4 separate regions of the Homo sapiens genome follow, and all the other regions are linked to region 1. The links are contacts of gene promoters, found by promoter capture Hi-C in blood cells and fetal thymus (Javierre and others, 2016). All regions are on one chromosome and are shown on one strand. The core of a region is centred on a gene start or on the middle of the fragment in contact, and the rest is flanking DNA. Distances in the headings are between cores, read along the strand shown.

The links. The method cuts DNA at HindIII sites, captures the fragments that hold promoters and counts their contacts. A CHiCAGO score of 5 or more calls a contact.
Region 2: a fragment that was not itself captured here is called in contact with the fragment with the promoter of UBLCP1 in region 1 in 9 of 17 cell types (fetal thymus, naive CD8 T cells, naive CD4 T cells and 6 more); the score reaches 15.2 in fetal thymus.
Region 3: a contact is called between a fragment that was not itself captured here and the fragment with the promoter of UBLCP1 in region 1, in 1 of 17 cell types (fetal thymus). The highest score is 5.9, in fetal thymus.
Region 4: a contact is called between a fragment that was not itself captured here and the fragment with the promoter of UBLCP1 in region 1, in 1 of 17 cell types (total CD8 T cells). The highest score is 5.1, in total CD8 T cells.

The regions. Positions count from the first base shown.
Region 1 is chr5:159,261,936-159,264,680 of GRCh38, forward strand. It overlaps UBLCP1 (ubiquitin like domain containing CTD phosphatase 1), which reads left to right and starts at 1,355. Exons shown (of 11, transcript NM_145049.5): 1 at 1,355-1,425. RefSeq lists enhancers at 580-1,087, 922-991, 1,022-1,331, 1,088-1,595. The HindIII fragment of the contact is 1,074 bases long and covers 978-2,051 here.
Region 2 is chr5:157,860,394-157,863,138 of GRCh38, forward strand. No RefSeq gene overlaps it. Among named protein-coding and RNA genes, the nearest start is that of CLINT1, 2.6 kb to the left of the region's middle. The HindIII fragment of the contact is 5,007 bases long and covers 1-2,745 here.
Region 3 is chr5:157,915,519-157,918,263 of GRCh38, forward strand. No RefSeq gene overlaps it. Among named protein-coding and RNA genes, the nearest start is that of CLINT1, 58 kb to the left of the region's middle. RefSeq lists a silencer at 2,527-2,636. The HindIII fragment of the contact is 3,686 bases long and covers 1-2,745 here.
Region 4 is chr5:160,430,643-160,433,387 of GRCh38, forward strand. No RefSeq gene overlaps it. Among named protein-coding and RNA genes, the nearest start is that of PTTG1, 10 kb to the left of the region's middle. RefSeq lists an enhancer at 1,788-1,877. The HindIII fragment of the contact is 3,173 bases long and covers 1-2,745 here.

The sequences.
Region 1 (2,745 bases), core at 105-2,604:
CCACACTGTGCCCGGCCAACATTTATCATTTGTGTTGAGACTATCCCAACCTTTCTCCTCTATTTTGAAATACAAAATAAATTATTGATTACTATAGTCACCCTACTGTGCTGTGGAACGCTACAACTTATTCCTTCTGTCTAACCATATTTTCGCTCCTTTTAACTTCTCTTCATCTCCTTCTCCCTCCTTATCCTTCCCAGCCTCTGGTAACCACAATTTTACTCTCTATCTCCATGGAGTCAACTTTTTTTTAGCTCCCACATATGAGCACCAAACTTCAATGTAAGACCCAAAACTATGCAGCTATTCCAAGAAAACGATTTGAGAAAATGCTTGAAAATGTTGGTCTGGGCAATGATTTTTTTTTTTTTTTTAATTAAGACTTTCTGAAGAAAAGGGCATACTTTTCACTGAAAAAGTTTGAGTTTTTTAAATGAGCAGATACTCATGCATTACTAGTGCAGCCAAAAATTATCAAAAGTAGGGAAGAATGCAAAATAGCGTGTGCCTCTTAACTAAAGAACTGTTAAGATACAAAACTTGGCTCTTTGCTGCCTTTCCCGCACTGCCAAGAGGGAAACATGAATTAGTTACATTGCCGTGGTGCTCACTGGGAGTTCGCTGTATGGACCAGATGGGTACTGCTCCGAATTTCCATTCAAGTCTGACATTCTTTTGTCAGCGTTTGTGTAACCGGTTTTCCTTGCATTCAGAGGAAAGACAGCATGGAAGTATGGATGGGAAGGTTGAGACGATTGGATACTGTATGGTAACCTCGATCGCAGCTCTCCTATGAGACTTGCTTCTTGGATTCTGAGTCACTTAAGCTTGCCCCTTCTCTTTCCTGACCCTCTTCCGTTTCCCCTTAGATTGGAGATTCTCCTCAGATTCTAAGTCTCTGAAATTATTAGTGTTGGCAGCCCCTGGGCCCATGGAGGGGTCTCAAGTCTTCAGTTCTCAAAGATCACCTTTTAAGCTTCATTCGGAACATGACACAGCCACACGAGTCCTAGCCCTGAATCTCACGAAGACCTCAGTACACCTGGAAAAGGCAGCACACCCAGTTACGACACTACTAGAGACGTCACACGCCTCAGCACCCATCCGCTCCCAGCCCAGAACGAGCGCACGCGCAGAACGAGAGAGCGGCCACCCAGGGATCGGCGCTATCTGCACAGCGGTTACAGTCTCGGAAAGGCCTGGCTTCTTCGTGGCTTTGTGGAGATCCCTTACAGCGGCCATTTGATTAGCACCCGAAGAGATTCAAAGGAAGCAGTTGTTCCGTCCCCAACATATTTCCGTTTCAAACCACCCACTTCCGGTTTTTCAGCCGGTTCCGGTCCCGCCCTTCACTTCCGGTCGCTTTCGGTCTCTCAGCGGCCGGTTTCTGCGTCCGCTGCCGCAGGTTCCACCGCGCTCCAGGTGAGGGGTTGCGGGGCACCCTGGCGCGCTGCCCTTGGAGACGCTGTTGGGGCTCGGGGACAGTGGCTTTGCGGCCCGCGCGGCGTGGCTTGCACTGCGGCGGGCTGGGGATAGTGTCTGTCCTAGTCTGACGCCCAGGCCCCTAGCCCCGGCCCGCTTAGTCGCGGGGGCCGCTGTCCTCCCATCCAGCAGTCTAGCCTATTTGGAGGGCTTTCTGTTTCCCAGTGGGTTTTGCGTCCCCAAACTTCATTCCTCCGTCTTCTCAGGCTTGTCCATCCCTCCCCTCAACCTCCTTGTTGAAGGCATCCCGGCCTTTTTGGTTCTGGAGCCTCCACCTGCCTCCTAATGCTCCCCTAAGTCAGTTAGCACAGCCCCCGACCCTGCACCACCTCGCAGTTGTTGCTGGTGTGCGGTTCTCGCCGGAGTTCTTAGTGCTTCACGGTTATCTTTTGCTGGGATTGTTGAAAGTTAACCTCCCGTTAATTCCCAAAGTGTTACTTTTACTGCTATACTTTAAAATTTCTTCATTTGCCACTTTTTAGGTTTGTGGTCCCGGGCAAGTTTAATTTCTTTTCAGGATTCTCATTTGTATAATGAGGACAACAGCTGTTGGTTCAGGATTGTGAAGCTTCAATGAGATAATTGTTTAGCATGTTTTTATTCCATCATGAACACCATTTGTATTGTGTTTTACAGTTTACAAAGTGCTGTCACAGGTGTTACTTCATACCTTAACACTACTCCTGTCCAGTGAATATTAGTAGCCTCATCTTGTTGAGAAGACTGAGGCCAAGAGGTGGATTGACTAGGCAAAGTCAACACAGTATGTTAGGTAGAACTCCAACCTAAACAGCTATTCTTGACCCTAGGTTGACCATATGGAAGTGTATTCTTTGCTTGCTTGTTTGGGTTTGCCAACTTCACTCCTCCCCACACCCCAAATCATTTTTCAGCTTATAAATCTGATGGGATCTGAAATGATACAAAATACTAAGAAAGAAGGTTAAATGTGAAAGCAAAATAGCTCATGCATTTATATCACACTGCTTCATTGGTGTGAACGGTCTTAATGATGAAATAAGGTTCAGTAACTTTTAAACAAATCTTAAAGACATATGCATTTACAATTTTTATGGTGTTTGTTTCGCTTGGCCCTTTAAGGCATTTGCCAACTTGGAATTTCCACTTGTGGGATAGGTGCTTCGTAACGTTTTTATGCTGCTTTATTAACCATATAGAGCCCATGCCCTCTGGCACATTTTTTTTAAGGCTGAAAACATTGAAGAGCCTGTAGTACTGACTCTCAAATTTGAGCATTCA
Region 2 (2,745 bases), core at 172-2,671, 1.4 Mb before region 1:
AGAGGAGTGGCTGGTCTGGGTGGGGTCATCCGTTTGTCAGAAATGCAAAAGCCTGAAAAGACGTCTTAAAAGGCCAATCTTAGGTTCTACAATAGTTCATTACAGGCCAGGCACAGTGGCTCACGCCTGTTATCCCAGCATTTTGGGAGGCTGGGAGGCCAAGGCAGGAGGATCACTTGAGCCCAGGAGTTTGAGACCAGCCTGGGCAGCAAAGTGAGATCCCCCTGCCAGCCCAGTCTTTAAAAAAAAAAAAAAAAAAAAAAAAAAAGCCAGGCGTTGGGGCACACTCTTGTGAGGCCAGCTACTTAGGAGGTTGAAATGGAAGGATCCCTCGAAAGGATCAAATAAAGACTCCAATTCACAAAGAAGTGAAATTGATGGTTGCTAGTCATGAAGCTAGGTAACAATAATCCCAAATAAACAACCTCGGACCCTGGTCCCTCAAGTGAAACCACCTCTTTTCTATTTTCTTTTTCTTTTTCTTTTTTTTTTTTTTTGAGCTGGAGGTCTCACTCTGTTGCCCCAGCTGATCTGAAACTCCTGGGCTCAAGCAATCCTCCCACCTCAGTCTCTCAAGTAGCTGAGACTACAGGAAACCCTCTCCAAGTTGCATTCACTTAATTACCGAAAGCAGCTTTGAAAAAAGTTTCAGTAAGGCTTTCGGATTGAGGCCCCAAGAGAAAGAAGCAAGGTTGAAGGAATTGACAGGCAGAAAATTACAACAAGCAGAAATCCAAAGTTATCTCAGAGCTTTGTAATGGTAGGAGTACTTGGGCTGATATGAAGTGAGTTGGAGAGGTGGGTGGGGAGAGGCAGGTAAAGATGAGCAGAGATGGGTAGAGGAATAGGGCTTTCAAATAAGAAGTTTGTGTTTTTTTGTTGAAAAGACTATCCAGCTCAAGATCCCAGAGATGGAATGTGGCCAGAGGAGATAAGAAAGAGAAACTACTTTGCATAAATAAGAGCTCAGCAAGTTAACTTTCAAACAAGTGAGTCCAGAGTACACCTGCAGAACGGGCCTGGCCCAGAAACAACCACCTTCCCTCCCCTGGGCCTGTTTGGGTGTTCACAGCAGGGCACTGTCAGCCTCTTTGCTCATTCCAAAACCAAGTTTGCATACGTCTAGACCCATCCTAGAGTTGTCACCTGTGACATTTGCACAGTCAGCTGGAGCCATCTGGAATGTAAAGCCAAAAAATCTGCCTGTCCGCTTCTAATTCAAGAGAGCCTTTAAAGGACTCAGAAAAATCAGACCCGGAGACTTTGTTAAAAAGTGATCTCCAGAGACTATTTGCATTTCAACAAAGTGTTCCATTTTTACCTTTTATCTTGCAAGTTCGAGAGCAGTTTCCATAGTAACTTCTTTGTGGCAATTCAAATATGTTCATGGTAGAAAAATAAATGAGAAAATGCTCCACCCACTCTTCTTCAGGAAAACATATATTTTTTACTAAATGAGCTGACACTTTTAGTAAGGCCAAACCAACACACGTTTTGAAGGAAAAAAAAAAAAAAAAGGCCGGATGTGGTGGCTCACGCCTGTAATCCCAGCACTTTGAGAGGCCAAGGTGGGTGGATCACCGGAGGTCGGGAGTTCGAGACCAGCCTGACCAATATGAAGAAACCCTGTCTCTACTAAAAATACAAAATTAGCTGGGCGTGGTGGCGCATGCCTGTAATCCCAGTTACTCGGGGGGCTGAGGCAGGAGAATCGCTTGAACCCGGGAGGTGGAGGTTGCAGTGAGCTGAGATCGCATACGAAACTCATCTCAAAAAAAATATATATATACATATATACTCAGTTATGTTAATGATGTGTGTTGTGAGAAGCAGTGTAGACAATGGACACTGACTGCTTATTTCATGCGGTCACCTCCCTAGAGTTCCCTTGGGGGAGTTTAATTCATGGTACATGGGTATGGCAGCCATGGAAAAGCACCATTCAGACCTACTTTCAAGAGAACCAGTTGCAAGGAGTGTGGTTGACTGACAGCTTCCTGCTGTCTTCCTCTGGGATCATTTATGCCAACGGCATACTCTCTGTAGGGCTATTCCCAGCAATGACTGAGAAAGGTGTGCTGGAGCCAGGCCATTTCTGCCCAGTGCTGGACTCCTTCACCGGGCAATCATTGACCTGGGCTTCCCATCGACTTGGCCCAGATTTCCTCAAAGCCTTGCTGCAATCAGATACTCTTCCTACCCAATCTTCCTTCCTTCCTTCTCTTCCTTGACAGGTGTCAGAACTTCCTTGTGGTCTCAGACCCTTACCACCTGCTCTTGCTCTCGCTTCCCTTTTTCCTTCATAGGCATTTCCCCTAATATATCTTATACTTCTAATTCCATCTTGGCTTCTGTTTCCTGTAGTACTCAAACTGACACAGCAGGTGAACATTTGCACCTTGGTTTCAGTATTTGGACTCACGAGTCTTGTTTTTGATCACACCTGACTGTTCATCTCCAGAGGTCAGAATATTGGTTTCTTTCTTTCTTTTTTTTTTTTTTTGAGATGGAGTCTCGCTCTGTCACCCAGGCTGGAGTGAAGTGGTGCAATCTTGGCTCACTGCAACCTCCGCCTCCTGGGTTCAAGCAATTCTCCTGTCTCAGCCTCCCGAGTAGCTGGGATTACAGGCATCTGCCACCAAGCCCAGCTAGTTTTTTGTATCTTTAGTAAAGACAGGGTTTCACCATGTTGGTCAGGCTGGTCTTGAACTCCTGACCTCAGGTGATCCACCCGCCTCGGCCTCC
Region 3 (2,745 bases), core at 97-2,596, 1.3 Mb before region 1:
ATTTGGGCCTGTCCGTCTCTCTTGGTTGACATCTTGCCAATCCTCTCTCTCTACAGTAGGTTGATTTGGAGGCCAAAAAAAAAAAAAAAAAAGACCAAATTCTCCCTCCTTGTGTTCACATGATTTGCAAAAATGTTGTGCAGCTTCTCTCATCAAGGGGTGGAGTCTATTTCCCTGCCCCTTGACTCTAGTCTGGCTATGTGACTTGCTTTGGCTTTTTAAATACACTGGAAGTGGTCCTGTGTCAATTCTGGGCCTAGGTCTCAAGAGGTCTGGAGTACTTCTGCTCTCTCTTGGAACCCTGCCACCACCGTGTGGACAGGCCAGGCTGCTGGAGAATGGGAGCTGATTTGGAAGACAGCCCAGTCGTCACAGCCAAGGCTATCCTAGACCAGTCTACAGCTAGCGGATGCCTAGGCATGCAAAAGAGAGCCGCCTGCCCAGCTCTCAGCTGACTGCCAATACATGAATGAGCCTAACTGAAACAAGAACTGCTCAACTGACCCATAGACTCATGAGCAACAATAATGCTGTTATTATTTCAAGCCACTGAGTTTTGCCATGGTTTGTTATATAGCAATAGCTAATTGGTACACCCTTAATTCCATTTCTGTACACTGTGGGCTCTAGCCAGGCTACATCTTTTGCCGTTTTCTGTGTGTACCATCCTCATTTTTACCTTTTGGCCTTTGAACAGGTGGGTTCCTCTGGCTGAGATGCTCTTATCTTCCAATTTTACACTCTGCTTGGCTAAAGTGTATTCATGTTTCATGATTTGGCATAGATGTGTCTTCTTCCAGCAAGTTTTGCTTCTCTCTCATCATGACTAGGTTAGCTGTCACTGCTGGCAAAAGATCCCTTCTGGACCTAACTCTAGTGAGGCTCCTCTAAATCCTGTAGGCCTTGAGCTTCAGTGTCCATCCTTGCTGGACTCACATCACTCAGTTTTAGCAAGAATCTTGTTAAGTTAGCGCAGTGGTTTGAATGTGTCCCCAAAAGTTCATGTGTTGGAAACTTAATCCCCAATGCAGCAGTGTTGGGAGATGGGGCCTAATAAGAGGCGATTTGTTCATGAGGGCTCCACCCTCATGAATGGATTAATGCTGTTATCACAGGAGTGCTTTTGTTATCATGAGAATGAATTTATTTAAAAAGTGAGCTCAGGCTGGGTGCAGTGGCTCACGCCTATAATCCTAGCACTTTGGGAGGCTGAGGTGGGTGGATTGCCTGAGCTCAGGAGTTCAAGACCCACCTGGGCAACATGGTGAAATCCCGTCTCTACTAAAATACAAAAAAAAAAAAAAAAAAAAAAAAAAAATTAGCCGGGCATGGCAGCGTGTGCCTGTAGTCTCAGTTACTCGGGAGGCTGAAGCAGGTTAATTTCTTGAACCTGGAAGGAGGAGGTTGCAGTGAGCCGAGATCGCGCCACTGCACTCCAGCCTGGGTGACAGAGCGAGACATCCGTCTCCAAAAAAAAAAAAAAGAAAAAAAAGTGACCGCAGCCTCTTCTCTTGCCTTTTCACCTTCTGCCATGGGATGATGCAGCAAGAAGGCCCTTTCCAGATGCGGGCCCCTTGACCTTGGACTTCCCAGCCTCCAGTACTGTAAGAAATATTTCTTTTCTTTCCTTTTTTTAAATTTTTTTGAGACAGAGTCTTGCTCTGTCACCTAGGCTGGAGCGCAGTGAGATAATCATGGCTCACTGCAGCCTTGACCTCCTGGTCTCAAGCAATCCTCCCACCTCAGCTCCCTGAGTAGCTGGGACCACAGGTGTGTGCCACAATGCCTGGCTAATTTTTTATTTTTAGTAGAGACAAGGTCTCACTATGTTGCCCGGGCTAGTCTTGAACCCTTAGGCTCAAGCAATCCTCCTGCCTCAACCTCCCAAAGTGCTGGGATTACAAGTGTGAGCCACTGCACCCAGCTATTTCTTTTCTTTATAACTTACCCAGTCTGTGGTATTCTGTTATAGCAACACAAAATCAACTAAGACAGTAAGTTTACAGAGAATCCTCACCCTTGATATCTGATCACCCTGGCCTGCCTTTAGCAAGAATCCTGTTAGGCTAATTTAGCAAGAATTATCCTACCCTCCTAGTGATTTCCCATCCATTCATGCCTCTGCCCTGCTTCTTGGCCAAAATCCCCATTTTTTTGTTGTTGTTGTTGTATTTGGAGTTGTGCCCAATCTCCCTCCCCTACTACAAAACCCCATTACAGTAGTCTTTTGAATAAAGTGTTCCTTATCAGGATCAAAATAATTCTTTTTATTTACCACTGTCATGCAGCCACCCAACAGGTTAATTTGCCACTGGCCAGATACAGACAATTTATCAAGACAGGAATTGCAATATAGAAAGACTTTAATTCACACAGAGCCGGTTGAATGGGAGACCAGAGTTTTATTATTACTCAAATCAGTCTCCCTGACAATTCAGAGACTGAGGATTTTAAAGGATAATTTTGTGGGTAGGGAGCCAGGGAGTGGGGAGTGCTGATTGGTTGGGTGGGAGACAAAAATCATAGGAAGTCAAGGCTGTCCTCTTGTGCTGAGTCAGTTTTTGAGTAGAGGCCACAAGACCAGATGAGTCGGTTTACTGGTCTGGGTGGCGCCCTCTGCTGCATCAAAATGCAGGGTCTGAAAAGTACCTAGAGCACTGATCTTAGGTTTTACAATAGTGCTGTTATCCCTGGGAGCAATTAGGGAGGTTTGGAATGTTGTGGCCTGTGGCTGCATAATTCCTA
Region 4 (2,745 bases), core at 132-2,631, 1.2 Mb after region 1:
CAGATAATTTGCATCTTGTGGGGGTTGTTGCTATTTTGTTCTGACACTTTTTGAAATAAGACAGACTTTATTCATACCTTTACAACTCTGTAAACCTTCTGCATTTCTCTACACTACCTCTGAGCCTGCCTCTCAGGATACTGTACCTTCTTATAGTAGGAGCTAACAGTCAGGAATGCCATTATCTTGCTACCATTTCTTCTTTCTTATTACAAGTTGTATTTTTCTACTTTCCATGCCAGCCATGGATTTTACCTTTTTTCATGCTGGGTATTTTTACATTTCTATTAATATTCTTAAACTTTGTTCTAGAGTATGGGTAAGGTACCTAGAAGCAATTTGATTCATTTGAGACTTGCCTTTAATGTTAGGCATCACCAGAGCAGCATTTAGCCCAGGGCTCATTTCCCCCTACTACTGAAGTGTGAGATGCTTAGGACTCTGCTGCCCCCTGAATTATGAGGTTTTCCTGTCTAGCTGGTGGGAGCAGACACTATTCCCAGCCCTGTGTGGGCTTCAGGAATTCTTCCCTCTGATCTTTTCAGCTATATGGATCAGTGCTCTTCTGAATACTACAGGGAGACCCTCTGCAAATTTCCAGGGTTCTCTCTGTGCAGCTCTCTCCTCTCCAGTGCTCTGCTCTGCAAACTTGGCCTGCCTTGGCCTGACTCTGCTCTGTCTCTTCAACTCAGGAAATTCACTGGGCTCTGCCTGCCTCCCTTTCTTCCCCACTCTGAGGCCTGGAAACTCAAAAGTAGCCAGTAAGGATAGTCATCGGCCTCACCTCACTTATTTCACATTCCTCAGGCATCGCTGTTCTCTGTCGCCTGATGTTCACTCTTTGGGCAGCCCTCATTTCATATATTTTGTCTTGTTTTTTAGTTTCAGGCAGGAGAGTAAATCTGGTCCCTGTTACTCCATCTTGATTGGAATTGAAAGTTCCTTCTAGATATTCCTTTCATTTTTTTTCTTTTTTGAGACGGAGTCTTGCTCTGTCGCCCAGGCTGGAGTGCAGTGGTGCAATCTTGGCTCACTGCAAACTCCACCTCCCGGGTTCATGCCATTCTCCTGCCTCAGCCTCCCGAGTAGCTGGGACTACAGGCGCCCACCACCACGCCCAGCTAATTTTTTTTTTTTTTGTATTTTTAGTAGAGACAGGGTTTCACCGTGTTCGCCAGGATGGTCTCGATCTCCTGACCTCGTGATCTGCCGGCCTTGGCCTCCCAAAGTGCTTGGATTACAGGCGTGAGCCACCATGCCCGGCCTTTTTTTTTTTTTTGAGGTAACATTCACATAAGAAAATTCATTTAAAAATGTACAATTCAGTGGCTTTTAGTTCAGAGTATATGCAACTATCACCACTGTCTAATTTCAGAACACTTTCATCACCCCCAAAAATAAACCCATGCTCATCAAGCACTCATTCCCCACTTCATTTACTTTGGAATGATGTCCCTCTGCCACCAGGATGAAGTCTGAGTTGCTCAGTGTGGCTCACACGGCCTTGTGGTGGCTCCTTGGGGGTGTAATTTCCTGTCCTGATTCACCTGGCCAAACCTGTCCATCTCTAGTACTCCAATGAGATGCTTTTCTTACCAGAAGCCTTTGCACTTACCATGCTCGGCTGTGTCTGGTCCTCTCCTCCGCTCTACTGGGAGCAGGATGAGGTGTGTCCTGTGCACTGGTGTATTCTCTGCCTGGCATGTGGCAGGTGCTTCAGGGACTTGCTGAAATGAGTAAAGATGTCATCAGTCCCTGGGGATCCAGGTTTCTAGAGACCCAGCGACTGCACTGTACCCACTGTTAGCATCACACGGTATCAGGGCCAGGGAGCCTGACTTCAAGGTTTCCAGAGAGAGAGTGGTGGGGGCAGGCACAGGTCTAGGAGGTCAGCTTCTCCTACCCTAGACAGTTCCTGGTCACCTGTCTGTCTGTGCCCCACCAAGCCCAGGTATAACCTGTTTACTGAGAAGCTCCAGCTCTGCTGGGGAAACATAAACTGAGTTTCTTTCTTTTTTTATTGCCACCAACTGTGTTTTGTTGACCTGTTCTCCTTTCCTCCTTTCTGGGTGGTGGGTGATGCTGAGCAGCATTCAGACAGATTTCATAGCTTTCCAGTTACTTTTGGTTAAAATTAAACTTTGCTTATTTTAAAACTTGAGGTTCACACCTATTTCAGGCTCTTCTCCCTCTCCCCTAGTACAGGCGAGGGCTTGGCAAAAGCCCATGTGTATGCTCTGCTCACCACACATGTCCCTTCTCCCCTTCCGGTGTTATGACCCTCATAGGGGCTTAGTCCAGCCCCAAGCCTGGGAGGACGGCTGGAGGGAGAAAAGAGTCTGCTCGTGTGACAGGCCACTTGTTGGTTATGGGAAGTGTGCTGGCTTCGTTCTGGCTGTTGTGCTCTGCACGATGCTGGTGGCCTCTGCTCATGGGGAGGTCCTTGTGTAGAGAATCACCCTCTTCTCCACGGCTGAAAACCCTGTCCCTCCTGAGAATGGCAGCCTGCCTCTCTTCCCACACCTTTCCCAGGTGGGCCCTTCTATTCCTTGGTCCAGGGGCTGTCCAAGGCCTCTGCCCTTCCATGATTAACCACTGGGATCTTTTCCATCCCCTTTGAGGGCTGCAGAACCAGGATGGGGTGAAGGTTTCCCTGCAGGCCTGGGTACTCCAGCAGGTCCCCACCGTGAGAAATCTCTGGACCAGGAGCAGGTGCCAATCTTTAAGTTGCAGTGAGTCTCTACA